Linked DNA regions of Homo sapiens: regions 1 and 3 are each linked to region 2. Evidence: promoter capture Hi-C in human tissues and cell types (Jung and others, 2019). All regions are on one chromosome and are shown on one strand. Each heading gives the region's core, a stretch centred on a gene start or on the middle of the fragment in contact. The rest is flanking DNA. Distances are from core to core; before and after follow the strand shown.

Region 1 (3,580 bases), core at 704-3,203, 260 kb before region 2:
ACTCTCAGGGACTTGAAGCGAGGACAGAAAATACTCCCCAGACAAGGGCAGACACAGGAGGGAACAATGCCTGAGGACACAGGCCTGAGGCAGGCCAAGCGCTGCCACGCGTGGACTGGACGAAGGCCTGCTAGGCATGGCCTGGCTGGAAGTGAAGAACCGAGGCAGCACCTCTGGCTTGGAGGGAGCAGGTGGGAGCCCTTGCACTGGCTTCCTCTCCCCTGTTCTTATTCTTCTGGAATTAGGGAGGCTGCTGGGAGGTAGAGGAAGCACCTGCCCCAGTCCTCAGAGGACAGAATCATGCGAATGCTTAGTTACCGAGACCTCCTTCCCACCTGCACGCCGGGCCAGTGGCTCTGCCCGTGACAGCCCCGGGCCTGGCCTGTGCTCAGCACTCATCACTCTTGGGTCTTCCAGGCCATGGTGGCATTGCACGCCCTGCCCTAGGTGTGGGGTTGTTTCATGTTTCAGAAGCCGAAGGACCTGCCCTCCCTCTCATCTCAACACAGCGCCTGGCAGAGAAGCAGTTCCTCTGTCTACTCCAGGGGCTCACACGCCCCTCTGTAGCCCGAAAGTCGGCCTCGGATGTGATAAGCCAGGAAACTCCCTGGTCACCAGTGCATAAGCCCTCAGGGGCTCCAGACGCAGCAGCTGGTTCAGAATTTGTTATCCTGGACTAAAGCCTCCCCTTGCACCACCGTGGGGGTGGAAGGAGGTGGCTTGTCTGAGAAACACCAACATGGACAGGGACGTTCACTGTCACAGAGACAAGGCCTGGCCCCACCTCCCCACAGGACTCCCTCCCCAGTGCCTGGTCTGACGGCAGAACCAGGCAACACCCAGTTCCGCTCCCCTCACCCTTGCCTTCAGAAGCAACAGATAACGGCAAACCCTTGCGTGCAGCGACCACATGAAGACCGCAGCTGCGCGGGCTGTAGTTTCTTACCCTCTGTCAGCACGCACGGCTCTCCAACAGATGGGCGATTTCAAGTTGCTCTGCATCTTAAATGACCCCTTGATAAAACCCCAAACGGCTTTGGATGGGTCTGTTTCCTGTATCTTAAGCACAGAAAAAACAGCCCAGATGTTTCTGATTCATTCAAGCTTTAGTTCAAGAGCACGCTCTGCCGTGGGAGTTTCTTTGAAACTGAGGAGACACACAGGCCCTTCCTCCACTCCCTCCTGCCTGGCTGAGAAAAGGGACTTGCTTGCAGCCACCTGAGAGCAAACAGCACAGGTGCATGGAAGAGGGTCCCGCAGAGCCCTGGGGAGCCCGGCTGGGGACTCTGGGAAGCGGACGGCATCCACACGTGTCCACGCATTCATCGTTGGTACGAGATCCAACTCCCTACCTCCCGGGGGTGCAGAACGCAGGGTCCAGGGAGACGGCAGCCACCTTGGGGAGGATTCGGCCTTGTGAGATAGCAAGGTCCTTCCCTCAGTGGTCGTGGCCTCCCCAGAGTCCTACACCCCTCTGCTCTGCCCCCAAAGCCTGCACCCCCTTTAGAGGCCCCCTGAGCATGGAGACGGGTCCGTGTACCTGAGATCTGCAGGCACACAAATGTATCTGCAATGCTGCCTCGGTCAGCTGTGTCACATGGTTCTGCGGCTGCTCTGAAAATGGCCATTAGGTGGGAGTTTTTCTTTCCTTTTTCCTCTCCCCTTCTCTGTTATTGATTTAGAGACTTCATGCAGAAATTGAATAGGAGGAAGGGGGTGACAGTCCTCTGAGACCTGAAATCTCAGCCACGCCACGAGTGGCCGAGGGCCCAGGTCTGGTGACCAATGGTGAGAAGGAGTCATCTCTCAGAACGAGGCCCAGACAGTGCCGGGAACCAGGGGGTCCCACCAGGCACAGGCAGAACCAGCACGGTGCCTCCCCAGAGTCCGGTGACCTGAGGAGCTGCCAGGACGGCCAGACCCCAGTGAGTCAGTGACCACCAGGACGGCCAGGCACTCTCAGCAGCAGAATTCAGGCTGCATTCATTTTCTCCAAGGAGTGCAGTGTGGGTTCGGACAGTTTGAGCTCAAGCATTAGGGCTCTGTGGAGCAGGATCACAGCTAGTTATTGGGAAATCACCAAAAATGCATCGATACACAATTCTAGGTTCCAAACAAGAAGAGAAAGGACACTTTCGCTTTTAAAAGAAGGAAGATACAAAGCCTGGCAATGAACAGAAGTTTACAGAACAGAAAAATATGGGGTTAAAAACAGCCATTGGAGTCTTCCCAATTCTCATTCAGAGAGGGTGGCATGAAAGCCAACAGAAATCGATGTTGATAGGAAACAAGTGTCATCAGAGAAGGTAAGGGCATTCGCAGAGGGAATAATATTATTTGTGAACTGTCATGGCATGGCCGTTTTTAAACTTATCTTCACAGCATCTCTCCTCATAAGCAAGAGCATGAAGAGCACGGAGAATGTCTGTTTGGTGGCCGACAGCCATCACGGGGTCTCTACGTGCCGGCCAGTCCTCACCTCGTTTGCACGCGTTTATGAACTTAGCCCTCCCTCCGCACCATGAAGGGGCCCTTATCGTCCCGTTTCACAGGTGTGGAGACAGAGGCTCGAGGGGAGAAACAGCCCTGGCGGGCGAAGGCAGAGCTGAGCTTCCGAGAAGGGCCTCCTGTGTTCAGAAATTCCAAAGGAGAAGTAGAAGTTGTCCTGTGGGCAGGAGGGGAGGGAGAAACTCCCAGATGACAGGTGCGAGCCGCGGCCTCGTGCTGACATCTAGAACCGGATGATGGGAGCGAACCGCGGCCTCGTGCTGACGTGTAGAGTGGGAGGGACCCTGGCATCCAGGGGCTTCTTTCTTGGGGAAACACCAAGTATAGAAAGTCAACCATCGTTGTCTCTCACGTAGGATTAACTGTTGCTTTTCAGCTTTTTTACACTTATTTTTTGTTAAGCTATGTCACTACACTTTTTTTTCTGAAATAACGTTAGACTTATGGAAGAGTTGCCAAGATCGTCCAGGAGTCCCCGCCCCCTTCAGGCAGCTTCCTCCCGTGTCAGCACCTTGCATACCCGACCTTGACCACAAGGATTGAGGCTAAGAATTAACACGGGGCAATTAACTACACAGTAGCTTGATTCAGATTCCTCCAGTTTCTGGTAACATCCACCTCCTGCTTTAGAAACAACACTGAGTTCCATGAGCACGCAGGTGTCATCTCGCTGTAGGCTCCAGCCCACGGCAGGCCCCGTGTTTCCTTGCCTCCCATGGCCTTGCCACTTGGAAGAGCACTGGCTGGGTGTTTTGAAGAACAGCCCTCAGTTTGAGTTTGCTATTTTATCATGTCTGGATCGAAGTTATGTGTCTGTGCCAAGAAACTGGCAGAAGCCCCATACCCTGCTCAGCGTCCGCAGTAGTGACTCACGGGCCCTATGCTTTGCCTCATTATGGGTTGTTTTGGCCCTGGTCACCTGGTTCTGGTGGGATCTGCTGGCTTCCCCCACTGTAACGTTACTATTCTTCATTTGTAATTTATTTATTTGTATTTACTTATTTTGAGATGGGGTCTCTCTCTGTCCCTCAGGCTGGAGTGCGGTCGTGCAATTTTAGCTCACGGCAACCTC
Region 2 (4,024 bases), core at 165-2,664:
ACATATCACAGCCTCTGCCCCCGGCTGTGATGCCACCGAGGGGCTCGCCTGCTGATGGCTTCAACAGGGTCTCACCTCATCTTTTCCTGCTCTTTGGCCCTGGATCGAGAAAATTTCCATCAGTGCCCCATTAATATGCTGCCCTGTGGCATCTGCCCAGGAGGCCCTGCCAGGCGTGCACAGGTGTGCATTGGTGTACCCTGGCATGCACAGGTGTGCACTGATGTGCCCTGGCATCCATTGGTGTACCCTGGTGTGCCTGCCATAGGACCCTGGGCGGGAGCTCCCATCTCATCTACATCTCCTGATTCATGCGTTGTTTCATAGGTTTCAATGTCTCTGTAAATGTGGTAGAAATGCAGGCTTTATGGGCATAAAGTGTACATTTCTAAATAAATCCCTTCTATTGAGTATGCTCACCCTAGAAGTTACTGTTGTCCAGACGTAGAGGGATGAGTGAGCCAGTGACCTCAGACGGGATGGTGGGGACGGCAGGTCCAGCTCCTGCCTCCTCCTGGGGGGTCTGGCTTTGGGGGCTTGCTCCGAAGAGGCCATGGCCCAGGCCTGTGGCCTCACAATGGGGACCAACCAGCTCTTCTCATCTTCTTCCCTCACACTTCCTCTCACTCAAATAAGAACCTTCCAAAAATGTGTCCACCTGGGCCCCTGCCCTGGGACTCATGGATTTGGAGTTGTGGCCACACGGTTGAGGGGTGCAGTGTCCAGTGGAATGGGGCAATTGCGGGCCTGGGGGCCCTTGGCCTGTCCGTGGCGGGAGCATCTGCAAGGAGGAGCCCCAGAGTCCAGGGAGCACTGTGGGGAGCTCCTTAGAGCTGAACTCACCCGGCGTCAACTCATCAACCCTCCACCCATGGACAGGGGTGCCCCCAGCACAGGAGAGGACTCAGCCCTCTGCCCCCACGCACGGTGGGTGCCTGTCACCCTGTCCTGCCCAGCGGCCCGAGGGCAGCAGTGGGTGTGAGGGCAGCCCCCGGCCTCCCAAGAGCAGCTGAGAGGATCCCTGCGGGAATCCGGGCTTCGGGTGCATGCGATCTGATCTGAGTTGTTTCTGACAGTGACAGAGTGACAATCTATAAGTATCTCAAGATCAAATGGTTAAATAAAACATAAGAAATTTAAAACGATTAAAATATGCCTCAGTCTTGGGAATCCTGGTGTCTGCAACAAAAAAACTTGAGGCTGTCCTTGCAAACGGTCCTCATGGTGCTGGGGGTGGTGCCAGGCCCGGCGTTTGCCTGGAACACAGAGCATGCGAGAAGGAGCAGAGGACGTGGGTGCCAGGGAAGGACCCTGGCGTCAGAGCCAGGGCCTGGACCTGAGTTACCCATTAACGGCACTCCACTGGTTTTCCTTTAAAGAAATGAATAAATACAACTGCAGTGGGGCTGCTTGTGGTTTCCAAACGTCGGCAGAGGCTGGAGACGGCTCTCTAGTGCTGGGTGTGGAGTGAGGCACCACCCTTGCCCTGAAGCCTGGGGCACTCAGTCACCATGGCTCATGCCCCAGAACCGGACCCGGCCGCCTGCGACCTCGGGGATGAGAGGCCCAAGTGGGACAACAAGGCCCAGTACCTCCTGAGCTGCACTGGGTTTGCCGTGGGACTGGGGAACATTTGGCGGTTCCCATACCTGTGCCAGACCTATGGAGGAGGTAAGCACCCACCTGCGTCCTGGGGCAGACCCCTAAGCAGGGGAGGCCGTCTCCACCCTGACCTGCCAGGCGCCTGCCACGCATCCCCAGTGCTTGGGCAGAGTCACTCCTCCTGGAAACCAGGGTGCACCATTGCCCACGGCAGAGTCAGTCCCCTCAGGGCCCACCTGCAGTCTTCTGGGACCTCAGGGCAGCTTCACCACTGCCCACAGCACGGAGGATCCAGTCCCCTCGGGGTCCACTATGGTCTTCCGGGACCTCAGGGCAGCTTCCTGCCAGGCGTCAGGTTGAATGGGCCGCCCTGCCCGACACACACACCCTACAAACAGTGAGCGCTCTTCCATCTGAATGTCGTCAGTTCTTTAAAGAACACACAATCCGCTCTGGGTTTCCTCACCACAGCCTTGGTGTGTCCAGACATGTGCTCAGGTGCCCTTCTCCGAGGTTCTTTGCAGGAATTTGGGGGCCCACCCCTCGCCTCCCTGGCTTTGGTTCTCTGGGAGAGCCCTGTGGGGGGTGCCAGGATGTTCAGAACTGTCTGGGTGACTTTAGTGACCTTGGACTCACCACCCCCAGAAGTGCATTGGTGACTGAAATAGGCTCCCACGCACCTCGAGCCTCCCCTCACCCTGTGCCTGCTTCTCTTCATGCAGGGGTCACACTCTGCTCTCCATGTGGCGACACAGGATGTAGGGACAGGCATGAATCACTGCTCTCAGGGAGCCGACGTACAACATCACGCATGGACACCCAGGTCTTCCCCAGGCAACACGGGCAGGGGCTTCCCAGGCCGCAGGGTCCTCCTCAGGCCAGGCCGGGCTGCTTGGTCAGCCTGTTCCCCGGGCCCTCAGCTCCTTCCCTGAGAGCCCCGCACAACTATCCCTTGTTATAAGGTTACTCCTTTAAAGTGTTTTTCCTCCTGCTTAAGAAAAGATTCTCAACAGGCAGAAAATGCAGGAAATGCGCACAAATGGAAAAAACAAAAAGAAACACCCGTCACTGCCACCCTCGGGGCACTGGGGTCTCTTTGGGGCTTTGGGGCTGGAGAGGGTGCATTGGGCCTTGGATCTTCTCATCATGAGAGTCCCTTTGAAGGCATTTCTGAAAGCACCAAAGCCCAAGGGCAGAGGCGTCCCTGGCTCCCGGGGCCCTCGCTGCCTGTGCTGCGGCTCGATCTGCTAAGAGTCACCAGAGCATGCAAGGTTGTGGGGGCAGCAGGCTTCACGCAGAGCTGGAAATGCCGGCCAACGCTTTACCCACCAACGCCTTGTTCGCCAATGCCTTGCCCACCGATGCCTTTCCTGCTGATGCCTTGCCCAACGCCTTGCCCACCGACGCCTTGCCCACCGATGCCTTGCCCACCGATGCCTTGCCCGCCGACGCGCCCAACGCCTTGCCCGCCGACGCCTTGCCCGCCGACACCTTGCCCGCCGACCCCTTGCCCGCCGACGCCTTGCCCGCCGACGCCTTGCCCGCCGACGCCTTGCCCGTCGATGCCTTGCCCGCCGATGACTTGCCCGCCGATGCCTTGCCCGCCGATGCCTTGCCCACCGAAACCCAGTTACCATTGCTAAGCGCCTGCAGTGTACTGGAAGTGTCTGGCACTAGCCTCCCTTAAACTCAGCTGCTCCACGCTGGGGCAAAGCTGGGGAGGCCCCCACCTGGGGTGCTGCTGAGGAGGGAGAACAGCCCTGCCCGCCAGCTGCGCGGGGACTTCAGGGCTGCTCCACTCATGAACGACTCTACCATCAATCTCCTGATGCAAGCCACCGGGTTGCATGTCATGAAACATCCAAGTTTATTTAACTCACACACTTCCTAAGGGCCGTGCCATCAGCATTCTCACCCTGTGTGTGAACATGCCCTTCACTTTGTCTCGCTGTGAGGATCACTCATTGATGATTTTGAAAACAAGATATAATTAAGAAGCAGGTACTGTGTAGCTTTTAACATTTGCATATACTCATGACTACCAAAGGCGAATATTATTTGCTCTCCCATTCATAAGTATTCAACTACATAAATGTTCTCTTCAAAGCTAAGACTTGTAAAGCAACATTGTAACAGAATGTAGCAAAACGTTGCGGTAAAGATTTACAGTGATTTTCTCACACCTATGACATTTCATGGCAGCTGCTTTATTACACATTCAGCGTCTTTAAATCAAAGGAACGTAGACTCGTAAATGCCAAGCGATGGGTTCAGGCCAGCTGCCCGGGACACTCTAACACTTGCTGTGGTTTAAGGTTTCAACCCAGGAAGCTTTTATGACTAAGCTGGTGGCCCTGGGCTGGCTGTGTCCACACACGTGAGGTCACTCATCAAGCGCGCCCCCTCCCCGCTACTTCCTGCC
Region 3 (3,470 bases), core at 330-2,829, 360 kb after region 2:
ATGGCTGCAACTGGGGGGGTCCTCGGGATCCTCCCGGAATCTCTTCCTCAGCATTCGCTCATGATAAGGTTTCAGGTGTCTTGATGGTTCAGTCCTGGAGAAACATAAGCATAACCTCTACCCCAAGTTATTATTTTACCTATTTCCCAACTTTCTGTTATCAGGTCTCTCCACCAAACCAGTTGTTCTGCTTCTGTCTTTGCAGCTGGTTTCTGTAGATGCTGTTCAGCTGCTGATAAGATCCGGCCTTTAGGCAGGCTCAAAAAATTTAAAGTTAATAATGCGATTCAATTGCTTATGGGGTGTCCTGTAGTACCTGTTTTCCCCCTTTTGCTTCTGCAACTGCTGTTTCAGGGAGAGATTCATTCTTTCCACTATGGCTTGTCCTTCAGAATTATATGGGATATCAGTAATGTGTTTAATATTCCGTATAGAGAAAAATTTAGCTAGAGCTTGAGAATTAGGTTCCAATCCTCGAGGATTAACTCCTCCTGTAAAAGATGAGGAATGTACCATTTGGCAAGTTGGGCATCGCTGGATAATAGCTTTAGCTTCTTTCCAGGTACTGCTGTATCTGCGTTTGAGACCAGAGGTATTAACACGGGTTAAATTGTGAAAGTGTCCAGCATTAGATATTGCAGTAGCAACTAGGCGATCAGCCATTTGATTCCCTGCAGTCAAAGGTCCTGGAAGAGGTGTATGAGCCCTAATGTGAGTGATGTAAAAAGGGTGCATTCTACTCCTAACTGCTGTTTGCAATTGCATAAATAAAGTCATCAGTTGTTCATCTGTATGAAATCGTAACTCAGCATTTTCAATTAATTGTGTCGAATGAACCACATATGAAGAATCAGAAATCACATTAATAGGCATATTAAAAGCAGTCAATACCTCAATTACAGCTACAAGCTCCGTTTTTTGAGCTGAAGCATAGGGTGTCTGGAAAACTTTACCTTTCGAGCCAGAGTAAGAAGCTTTACCATTACTAGACCCATCTGTAAAAACATTCTCCACACGTTCAATTGGTTTAGTTATTTTAGGGAGAATACAATTAGTTAATTTCAAAAATTGAAACAGTTTCATTTTAGGAAAATGATTATCGAGAATACCCAAAAAGTCAGCTAAATGGGTTTGCCAAGTAAGACTATTTATAAAATCTTGCTGTATTTGTGCCTTCGTGAGAGGGACAATTTTTTCAGGATCATATCCATGTAATTTAACAATCCGAGTTCTCCCATTTCCTATCATAGTAGCAATTTGATCCAAATAAGGAGTTAGAGGCCATGAATTAGTATGTGGAAGAAAAAGCCATTCTACAAGATCTTGCTCTTGAACAATAACACCAGTAGCTGAATGTGGAGTTGGAAAAATTAGCAAATCTAGAGTCTTCTCTGGATCTATTCTATTTATTTGGGCTTTATGGACTTGCTTTTAGATCAGCTGCATCTCGAGTCTTCTCTGGATCTATTCTATTGATTTGGGCTTTATGGCCTTGCTTTTCAATCAGCTGCAGCTCGAGTCTTCTCTGGATCAATTCTATTCATTTGGGCTTTATGGCCTTGCTTTTTGATCAGCTGCAGCTCGAGTTTTCTCTGCATCTATTCTATTGATTTGAGTTTTATGGCCTTGCTTTTCGATCAGCTGCAGCTCGAGTCTTCTCTGGATCTATTCCATTTATTTGGGCTTTATGGCCTTGCTTTTTGATCAGCTGCAGCTCGAGTCTTCTCTGGATCTATTCTATTTATTTGGGCTTTATGGCCTTGTTTTTCGATCAGCTGCAGCTCGAGTCTTCTCTGGATCGATTCTATTGATTTGAGCTTTATGGCCTTGCTTTTCAATGAGCTGCAGCTCGAGTCTTCTCTGGATCGATTCTATTGATTTGGGCTTTATGGCCTTGCTTTTCGATCAGCTGCAGCTCAAGTCTTCTCTGGATCGATTCTATTTATTTGGGCTTTATGGCCTTGCTTTTTGATCAGCTGCAGCTTGAGTCTTCTCTGCATCGATTCTATTGATTTGGGCTTTATGTCCTTGCTTTTTGATGAGATGCAGCTCGAGTCTTCTCTGGATCATTTCTATTTATTTGGGCTTTATGGCCTTGCTTTTCGATCAGCTGCAGCTCGAGTCTTCTCTGGATCGTTTCTATTTATTTGGGCTTTATGGCCTTGCTTTTCGATCAGCTGCAGCTCGAGTCTTCTCTGGATCGATTCTATTTATTTGGGCTTTATGGACTTGCTTTTCGATTAGCTGCAGCTCTGCCTCAGCTTCTCTTGTTAATTACCGAGGGCTGGTGAGACTAGGATCTCCTCTAAGGATAGAAAACAGATTACTCATGGCATAGGTAGGAATGCCTAGAGCAGGTTGTATCCAGTTAATGTCCCCTAGTAATTTTTGAAAGTCATTTAATGTTTTCAATTGATCCCTACGTATGGCTACTTTCTGTGGCACAATGGTAGTGTCATTTACTAAGGTTCCCAAGTAGGAGTAAGGAGTAGTAATCTGAATTTTGTCAGGAGCTATAATTTAACCAGCACCAGAAATTGAATTTTGCAAGTGATCATAACACTGGAGTAATATTTCTTGAGTAGGGGCAGCACAAAGTATATCATTCATATAATGAATAATGTAACACAGTGAAAATGTTTTACGAGGAGGTTCAATTGCTTGCCCTACACAAATCCGGCAAATCGTTGGACTGTTTAACGTGCCTTGTGGCAACACTTTCCAATGAAAACGCTTAGCAGGCTGCAGGTTGTTTACTGCAGGAATTGTAAATGCAAACCGTTCACAGTCTTGCTCAGCTAAGGGGATAGTAAAGAAACAGTCTTTTAAATCTATGACTATTAAAGGCCAATTTTTTGGAATCATAGCAGGAGAAGGCAATCCTGGCTGTAATGTCCCCATAGGTTGTATAACTGAATTAATGGCTCTTAAGTCAGTTAACATTCTCCATTTACCTGATTTTTTCTTAATTACGAAAATTGAAGAATTCCAAGGGGAAAATGTTGGAGCTATGTGTCCCTTTTCTAATTGTTCATTAACTAAGTCCTCTAAAGCCTCCAGTTTCTCTTTACTCAGCGGCCATTGTTCCATCCAAATTGGCTTATATGTTAACCATTTTAAAGGTATAGGTTCTGGAAGCTTAACAATGGCTGCCATCAAGAATAATATCCTAAACCTTGGCAGGAACTGTCTTTCCACTTGAAGTGGTTCTTTCAAACCTTGCAAATTTTTTCCTAGTCCCATACCAGGGACATACCCCATTTCATGCATCATATGCTGACTTTGAGGGCTATATAATTGCTCTGGAATTAGAACTTGTGCTCCCCATTGTTGTAATAAATCTCTTCCCCATAAATTTATAGGTACAGAAGTTATAATTGGTTGAATAGTCCCAGGTTGTCCATTGGACCCTTCACAATGGAAATATAACTACTTTGATATACTTCAGGGGCTTTACCAACTCCAACTAT

What was found. Contacts are between HindIII fragments. The study calls those that stand out against the background at their distance.
Region 1: a fragment that was not itself captured here is called in contact with the fragment with the promoter of SLC6A18 in region 2 in 4 of the 25 tissues and cell types used here (IMR-90 fibroblasts, heart left ventricle, neural progenitor cells and 1 more).
Region 3: a fragment that was not itself captured here is called in contact with the fragment with the promoter of SLC6A18 in region 2 in 4 of the 25 tissues and cell types used here (H1 embryonic stem cells, dorsolateral prefrontal cortex, liver and 1 more).

Annotation. Positions count from the first base shown.
Region 1 is chr5:963,153-966,732 of GRCh38, forward strand. It overlaps LOC124900931 (a long non-coding RNA gene), which reads right to left and starts at 1,009. Exons shown (of 2, transcript XR_007058676.1): 1 at 947-1,009. RefSeq lists enhancers at 438-597, 2,184-2,685. The HindIII fragment of the contact is 5,091 bases long and covers 1-3,580 here.
Region 2 is chr5:1,223,967-1,227,990 of GRCh38, forward strand. SLC6A18 (solute carrier family 6 member 18) reads left to right here and starts at 1,415. Exons shown (of 12, transcript NM_182632.3): 1 at 1,415-1,671. The coding sequence starts at 1,512. It overlaps SLC6A19 (solute carrier family 6 member 19), which reads left to right. Exons shown (of 12, transcript NM_001003841.3): 12 at 1-1,145. RefSeq lists an enhancer at 1,809-2,351. The HindIII fragment of the contact is 11,488 bases long and covers 1-4,024 here.
Region 3 is chr5:1,579,391-1,582,860 of GRCh38, forward strand. It overlaps the pseudogene SDHAP3. Among named protein-coding and RNA genes, the nearest start is that of LPCAT1, 57 kb to the left of the region's middle. The HindIII fragment of the contact is 4,730 bases long and covers 1-3,470 here.